2 separate regions of the Homo sapiens genome follow, and region 2 is linked to region 1. Evidence: promoter capture Hi-C in 16 types of primary human blood cells and fetal thymus (Javierre and others, 2016). All regions are on one chromosome and are shown on one strand. The core of a region is centred on a gene start or on the middle of the fragment in contact, and the rest is flanking DNA. Distances in the headings are between cores, read along the strand shown. Region 1 holds the start of ALOX5AP (arachidonate 5-lipoxygenase activating protein). Region 2 holds the start of SLC7A1 (solute carrier family 7 member 1).

Region 1 (4,006 bases), core at 758-3,257:
CTAACCAATCTTGTAATAACTCTGTGGTAGTTAATTTTATGTCAAATTGATTGAGCTAAAAAATGCCCAGGTAGCTGGTAAAATGTTTTTTTCTGGGTGTGTTAGGGAGGGTGTTTCTGAAAGAGATCAGCACTGGAATCAGCGGACTAAGTAAAGAATTCCCACCCTCACCAATATGGTGGGTGTCATCAATCCACTGAGGGCCTGAATAGAACAAAAAGCGGGCAGAAGGGCAAATTCCCTCTTCTTCTTGAGCTGGGCCATCCATCTTCTCCTGCCCTTGGACACTGGAGCCCCTTGTTCTCCAGCTTTTGGATTCAGACTGGGTCTTGCACCATTGCCCTCCATCTTCTCCTGCCCTTGGACACTGGAGCCCCTTGTTCTCCAGCTTTTGGATTCAGACTGGGTCTTGCACCATTGCCCTCCTTGATGCTCAGGCCTTTGAATGCAGACTGGTCTCCACCAGCAGCTTTTCTGAGTCTCCAGCTTGCAGATGGCAAACCATGAAACTTCATGGTGTCCATGAGCATGTGAACCAATTTCTATTATAAATCTGCAATATATATATATGAGGAGACTTATTTATATATTGGTTCAGTTTCTCTGGAGAGCCTTGGCTAATATAAAGTCTATACTCTACAAAGTGCCCTAGGTACTCAGGGAGTACCCAAGTGTGTCATGACCAGCCCGACAGCCCTGGCTGCTGGCTTCCCCGCACACAACTCTGCACGCTGCCTTCATCAGCCTTTCTCTCTCAGCTGAACCGAGGGCATTGAAGCGGGCCTCTGGCACTGTACCTATGAGGGAGCAATATCTTCCCCTACACTGACCTCTTCCGTGCCGAGATGCAGCCCTCCCTGCTGCCACTAGTTACAGTGGTCCATGTTCCCTTTCAAAGTGAAGTTTTGATAAAAGCACCTCTTAACCAATGCCAAATAGCTAAGTCTGGGACAAAGATTGCAGGTATTTTGCATTTTCCATGTAACCTCAGAGGGATTGCCATTCACACTGATCTGAGCTGCAGAATACCAGGCAGCCACCTCACCCACCCAGCAGGTCCACTCTTATACTTTCTCAGAAAGCACAGCCACTCTACTCTTATTCAGTTGAAAAGAATTTCCAGGAAGGTGTTTCTGCGATTGCCTCAGAAAAGTCAGTTCCCTTTGGGAATTTCCCTTAGGGATCATCTGTAACTCCATTTCTGCCTTTTACCTGAATTCTTTGGTTTGGTTTGAATTCTTTGGTTTAATTTATGAATTCCCTTTATTACTTTTCTCTGAAGAAATGGAGATATCAGCTGTCCCTCCCCACTGCCATTTATTCCTTCCTTCATTCAAACCTTATGTGGCTGCTACTTACCGTGTGTTAAGTGTTCACTTTTTTTCTTGGAATTCAAAAAAAGAAGGACAGTATTTGGGGCACAGATCTTTTGGTGTTCTATACATTTTTTTAAAGTTTCATTTTACATTTGTGTGTGCGTGTGTGTGTGTGTGTGAGACAGTCTTGCTCTGTTGCCCAGGCTGGAGTGCAGTGGCATAATCATTGGCTCACTGTAGCCTCAAAGTCCTGGGCCCAAGCAATCTTCCCACCTCAGCCACCCAAAATGCTGGGGTTACAGGTTTATGCCACTCTGTCTGACCTGAAAGTTTTGGGTTTACTTTCCCTTCTTTCTCTTTGCTGAAGTCAGAGATGATGGCAGCTTCCAGATTCTCTGGTGCCTGTGCTGGGCTCGTGCTGGTCATGGTCTTGGGTCCAGGATTCATTCTGGAGACTCTCAGGGAAGTTTCCCATGACAAGGAAATGTAGGAGAGTGTGCTGGCTTTGCGTGCTCCTCTGCCAAGCCCTGCTTCTCCTGGTGGGACACACTGAACCACAGCCAGGGCATTTTGGTGGTTAGTTAAAAAAAAAAAAAAAAAAAAAAAAAGGAAGAAGAAGGCACTGTGTAATTGTGCCGGGGATCTTCAGAAATTGTAATGATGAAAGAGTGCAAGCTCTCACTTCCCCTTCCTGTACAGGGCAGGTTGTGCAGCTGGAGGCAGAGCAGTCCTCTCTGGGGAGCCTGAAGCAAACATGGATCAAGAAACTGTAGGCAATGTTGTCCTGTTGGCCATCGTCACCCTCATCAGCGTGGTCCAGAATGGTAAGGAAAGCCCTTCACTCAGGGAAGAACAGAAGGGGAGATTTTCTTTGATGGTTGTTTGGAAGTCAGGCTTAAACAATTGTGTCTGTGTGTGCGCATGCACAAACACTTTTACCTTATCTTTATTTTCTTCTTTTTATTTGAATGTATAGGGTTGTGTGTATTTCTGTGTAAATTTGGGGTTTTCCTCCTCTTAGTCTTTCACTTTTGTGGTGATTACCAGTCCCATTTTTAGAGCCAGGGCTGCAACTTGAAGGTTTTGCTAAAACCCTCACCGAAGTGTCTATGATCAGCATTTTAACTATTAATTAATGTGGCCAGGCAAGGGGTGGAAGGTGAGAAGACTAGAAAGGGAACATGATATACACATTTACTCAGATACTGGGCTTTTCTAACATCTGCAGTGCAATTGAAGTTACCAGTCATCTGCAGTCTAAAAAGAAAGTGATTTTGGGAGGTGCGTAGAAAAAATCATCTTATTATTTTTCCTCTATATTACTTTTTTCTTTTTTTCTCCTGAAGAAACTTTTTTTTTTGGTGATACCTTCTTTTTCTCTAGCACGTATAATTTTGGAAGCATTTTTCATATGCAGTGTATACTTCAGAAAGAGAGAGAGAGAGAGGAAAATTGTCCTGTTCAGCGTTTGCATTTCCATTATTCCTGCTATTAGTTAAAAACAACAACAACAACAAAAAACAAGCAGGATACCTAGATCTGGAAAAGGGAGAATTGTGTAGAGCTGTCTTCCTAAAGTTCTGAGTTAGGGCTGCCTCAGACCACTTTCATAACTATCTCCAGTGGCTTTGTGTTTTATATTTATTAAGATAGAGAAAAAAAGAGTAATTACTAAGGGCAGCTGCTGTAGCTTTATGGTGATTACTGAACATTGACATGCTGTCACGTTTTTGGAACTTTGAGTATTTAATCACTTTGGGATATTCTATTTTCCCCCATCTTGAGTGTGGACAGATGCTGGTGATGTAGCCTTCTGGGCACAGAGCAAGCCTCCCCCTCAGCCTCTGCACCAGAAAGGCTCAGCTTCACACACTCCAAGTATGTTTTCTACAAGAACTACACTTTGTGGCTTTCTGACCCAAACATTTTTATACTAAATTACACACAACAAAGTTGTAGCTCAGAGAGGGAACAAATGGCTTATTTAGGCCACCATTTTCTTGAGCCATTATGATTTCACACAGGGCTCCCTTGGCCCTGTAAATTGGCAAGGATTCCATTATTCAACCCGCATACATGTACAGAGACCCTGCTCTGGCCCAGATAGTATTCTGGGTACAGGCGGATAGAGCAGGAAACAAAACAGCTACAGTGATGGACAGGTCAGCCTGCAGCAATGCCTGCAGTCTCTGCAAAGGTAGCTGTATGGGTGGGCAGGTGGCTAGCACTTATTCAGCTCTGGAAGGATCTCCCCTCTGGCCTCTCCCCTGACACCCATCAATAAAACTGAGGAGCATCGGTGGACAGGGGACCTTGTGCCCCCTCCCTGCCTGTGCAGTTGGGGCTGAACCCAGCTACGAAGTTTGAGCTCACTCTCTCCAGCTCCCTCTCAATTCAGAGCTGAACTGTGGGAAGCTTCAGAGCTCTCTGTTTCAAGGACAGGTTCTCCTCACCTCTCCTAATGGAGGTGCACCAGGGAACTGGCCCTGCTCTGCCCAGGGCTTTCTCCTGGACTTTGCCATCATGGTCTAGCAAACCCTGTTCAGATTGAGGTGAGTGGTGAGATTTCGAATTCTTTTTGACAGATAGGATTAAGTCTTCTTCTGTGGGACAAGTGGGAGGTAGAGGTAAGATTAAAGATGGCCAAATGTCTGAGTCCTGACAGCCACAATATGGAGATCTAGACTTTT
Region 2 (4,359 bases), core at 1,394-3,893, 1.1 Mb before region 1:
AGCAGCCTGGACGGGTGGCTGCAACACACAGGCAGGCACCTGAGAGGGGCCCCAAGAAGATACATCTTCCAGCCCTGACCCTGGGGATAAGAGTTCTAAAAAGGTCAGTTGTGACTTTCAAAAAGTCCCTCTTCCATCCAACACGTTCTTTGCTCAGCCTTCCCATCTCATTAATACAGCAACTCCGATGTGCTTGGAGTCATATTTGACCTTTCTCGTCCTTCCATGAATCCACCGGCCAATCCTATTGGATCTGCCTTTAAAATCTATCCAGGTCTGCAGGGGCCAACTATACAGAAAAACACCACATCCTATCGGAAGGTCTTGCTTGGAGTGAGGACCAAGAGGCAGGTGGAGTGATAGGCATCTCTGAAGATGCCTCTGGAAGAGATAACTCCGAGACTCAAGTATCTCCAAGGTTAGAGGGAAACAATATTTTTCTCCATAACAAGGATGCACTTATTCACATTTCAAATTTGTCCCTAGGATTAATAGCAATCCCTCCAAATACATGGTTGATAATGAGAAAGGATTAATTTAATTGGACATAATTCTGAGCCCTCCAACATAATTATCTATTTGTATGGACTTTGGTTAAAATAAACTACAGACCAGAATAATCAATCAACACGTATTTAATTCCATCAAAGAATGAGTTCTTCTACCAAATAGAAAATTGTAACTCCCTGAAGTCAACAGTCTTGTCTTTCAAGCCTTTCTTTTTTTTTTTCACCTAAAGCAAGTAATCATATGTACAGGAGCACGTGGCTCTAGGATCCAGACCCAGACAAGGGAGTACATTTCTGATCTACTTACTAAGCCCTTTCCTCTTTACTCAAAACTCCTTTGACATCCTTTGAATTTTACCTTTATAATAATTAAACATGATCGTAATATGCTAAACCTATTTTTAAAACCATTTTAATCTATTGTTGACCTTTCCCCTAAGTTTCTATTCTGTTCGTGTGACTTAAATAAGACCTTTTGTTTTAATAACAGGAGGGTGTGTTCATATAAAAATCATGGTAATTTCCACTGAGATCAACTAAAAATACCAGAGGAATAAATGTATCATGGTTTCCTATTATCTGAACCAAACATAAAGGGCAAGAAATGTTAGGAAAAATCCCAGATAAATTATAATTCGAATTAAATACAATTAGGGCATTCGGCCAGAGGCCGACATACACAATTCTACTAGTCGAATGTAAGTAAGATAAAAGGCACATTCTTTAGGGAGATACACCTGGGATTGAAATCTCAACCATCTGGTAACTATGTCTGGACTAAAACCCAACACATGAGGGCATGGCGGTGATGACGTGAGTATTGGGAAATGTAGGTTATTTATTTATTTTTTTCCTGAAGGCACATGTCTGACTATCCTAGTCACACAAGTCAAACACAACTGCTGTCTGGTTCCCCCATCCCCTGGAAAGGGTCAGGAGCTGAACCAGCAGGCTGTTGTAGTACTACAGTGCAGCTGCCGCTCTGTGTACGCGCAGGTTTTAGAATGACTCTGACCTGCCCATGCCTGGGAAGTTTTCTACTACGCAGAAAGGAACACCCTGAGAATACGGTGTCTTGCTAAAGGCGGAAGAACTTCCTCTCATTCCAAACCATGTGGAGGGCTTGAGGAACCCGGCCTTTCCAGGCCACACTGGGTCACAAGGAAGCCCACCTAGGGGAGACTTCCTCAAAGCAATCTTGGGGACCCAGACGAGAGGTGCAGGCGGCGCGTCCCGGGTTCTAGGGACAAGCGGAGAGCCAGGCGCCCTAGGTCAGGGCGGCCACCGGGCGGGGATGGCAGCAGAGTCCCTGGGCCGGCCACCTGCCGCGGGACCACCCTCCGGGCGGCCGGGCAGAGTCCCCACCCACGGCTGATGACACATCCCCGGACCTCGTGGCGGGGCGGGGTGCTCTGCACCGCGCCATGTAAGGGAAGGTCTCCTCGCCGCCGGCGGGCTCCGTGTGCCTCCCAGTCTGGCCCCCGTGCCCGCCGCCCGCCTACGCACCCCGACCACCCCGTGCGTAGCGGCGCGCGGGTCCCCGGACAGGCGCGCGGAGCGGGCATCGCCAGATCGCCCACGCTTACTCACTCGGTGTTGCATCATGCACCACGCCGCGGTTTCAGGGAGCCAAAATGGACTCCGTGGAGGCGACAGTCGCATGGGCACCAGCCCCGCTCGCCCACTCCGGGGCCCGCCCGGCCCTGGTCCTGGCCCTTCCCAGAGGATGGCAGCGTTCCCGGCGCGGGGGCCCTCGCCACTCCCGCGCCGCCCTGCCGCGGCCCCACGCGGCGCCAGGGCCCCCTCCGTGATGACCCGGGCCCAAGGAGCTGCCCCCTGCGTTGGCGGGGCCGGGCACTCACCAAGCCGGCGGCGGCGGGGCTCCGGCAGGATCGCGAACAGACAGACTGTCGGACGCGCTCAAGGACCAACGGACGCTCGGCCGGCGAGACCGGGCGGGGCGGGGCGGGGCGGGGGCGCGGCGCGCGGGGAGAGGAGTGGAGGCTGCGGTTAGCGGGAGCCCGCGGCCGCGTGCGCGCCTGCCAGGTAGTTGACCCGCTGCTCACACCTGCCTGCGCGGACTGAATGGGCGCCGAGGGCTGGCGGGTTCCGGCGCCAGGTTTCATCAGCAGTGCGCCCGGCCCCCGCCCCTCGCGCTCCGCGCCCCGCGCCCCACGCCCGCCCCCGGACCAGGCAGCCCCGGCCCGCTCGGCCGCGTCACCGCCGGGCACCAATGGGAGCGCGGCGCGGCGGCGGCTGCCAGCCCAGAGGCTGCGGCCGGGGACCGACGCGCCCTTGGTGGGCGGGGCGGCTGAGTCTTCGCGCGCCCAGCGCCCCAACCTGGGGTTCCCGCGGCGGGCGGGCGGGCTGCGCCTCCGCTCGCCTTCTCAGTAGCTCCGTAGGCGTGTGGCCGTTTCTCCGCCAATCTGAGCGCACCGCGCCACAGCATCCTGTGGTCCCCTGCAGATCCCACAGCGCCCTGGCCAGAACTAGTGCTGCAGGTCCGGCCGTGCCAACCCCCTCCCGGCGGGCCCCAGGGAGCTCACACGGAACTCGAGACCAGTTTTCCTTCTCCAAAATAAAAGATTTGGTATGCACTTAAAAGGTTTAAACTGTTTTCTTTTCATTTTAGAGACAGGGTGTTACTCTATTGCCCAGGCTGGAGCGCAGTTCACCTTAACCTCGAAATCCTGGCCTCAAGCGATCCTCCCGCCTGGGCCTCCCAAAGCGCCCTAGGATTACAGTCCTGAAACACTGCACCGGCCTAAAAATTATTATAAATCTTCATGTCTTTGTTATTGGATTATTTTATTACTATTCCTTTGCCCTTGCTAATACCTTATCCTTGCCAGTTGTCAGAAGAGCCCCAAAGCTTGAATCTACCTGTGCCCCCTTGGCAGTGGCAAATGCACAAACGGCTAGTCAGAACGGCTCACTTTTGCAGTTACCCCCCAGGAAGTGGCAGAAGCTTCAGTCCTGAATCACACCGTGCTCACCTTTTAAGCTCCCTCCTTGTCTCCTTTTGTACCAAAAGCCAAGCGAGAATCATAATCTTTAAAGATCCAGTGATCTGGGACTTGGGATAGGTAAACAGGGCATAAATTAATAATGCCATCCTTCTTCTATCTTATAGGAAAACAGAAAAACAGTGGACGGTGTCCGTGGTCTTTGAATCCTTTCTACAGGTCCTTCTCAAATATCAGCTGCTGAACTATTCCCTTGGAATTAGACTAGCAATTTATAAAGTACATAACTGCATGGTGCTAGCTTCAGAAAAAGTGTTCTGTTGTTGTTGCTGTTGTCATTTGTTTGTTTTTTAGAGACAGGGGTCTCACTCTGTCACCCAGGCTGGAATGCAGCGGTACAATCATAGCTCACTGGAACTTCAAATTCCCAGGCTCAAGCCATCCTCCTGCCTCAGCCTCCCAAGCAGATGGAACTACAGGCTTGTGTCATCACGCCTAGTTAATATTTTTTCTACATATAGACACGGGTTTTTGATATGTTGCATAGGCTGGCCTCAAATACCAGCTGTCTAGCGATCATTTTGCCTCAACCTCCCCTAGCATCGGGACTACAGGGATGAGCCAGAAAAAGTCCCCAGAAAAAGTTTTAATGAACACATGCAGATGGCTTAGCAGTTGTAAAATGTGTTTTTGTCTTTGTTTTAGAGAGTGGGTCTCACTCTGTCACCAAGTTGGAGTGCAGTGGCAACATCATAGCTCACTGCAGCCTTGAACTCCTAGGCTCAAGCGATCGCCTCACTTTAGCTTCCCCAGTAGCTGGAAATATAGGCGAGCACCATCCTGCCCAGCTTTGTAATGTGCTTTGAACAGTGCTTGACATCATA

Evidence for each region. Contacts are between HindIII fragments. The CHiCAGO score rates a contact against its expected background, and 5 or more counts as called.
Region 2: the fragment with the promoter of SLC7A1 here is called in contact with the fragment with the promoter of ALOX5AP in region 1 in 1 of 17 cell types (non-activated CD4 T cells); the score reaches 5.9 in non-activated CD4 T cells.

The regions. Positions count from the first base shown.
Region 1 is chr13:30,733,536-30,737,541 of GRCh38, forward strand. It overlaps ALOX5AP (arachidonate 5-lipoxygenase activating protein), which reads left to right and starts at 2,008. Exons shown (of 5, transcript NM_001629.4): 1 at 2,008-2,140. The coding sequence starts at 2,071. The region is part of intron 2 of LOC124903146 (a long non-coding RNA gene); the gene reads right to left. The HindIII fragment of the contact is 8,013 bases long and covers 1-3,729 here.
Region 2 is chr13:29,593,045-29,597,403 of GRCh38, forward strand. SLC7A1 (solute carrier family 7 member 1) reads right to left here and starts at 2,644. Exons shown (of 13, transcript NM_003045.5): 1 at 2,372-2,644. RefSeq lists enhancers at 1-441, 1,531-1,660 and silencers at 1,308-1,602, 1,771-3,010. The HindIII fragment of the contact is 14,376 bases long and covers 1-3,379 here.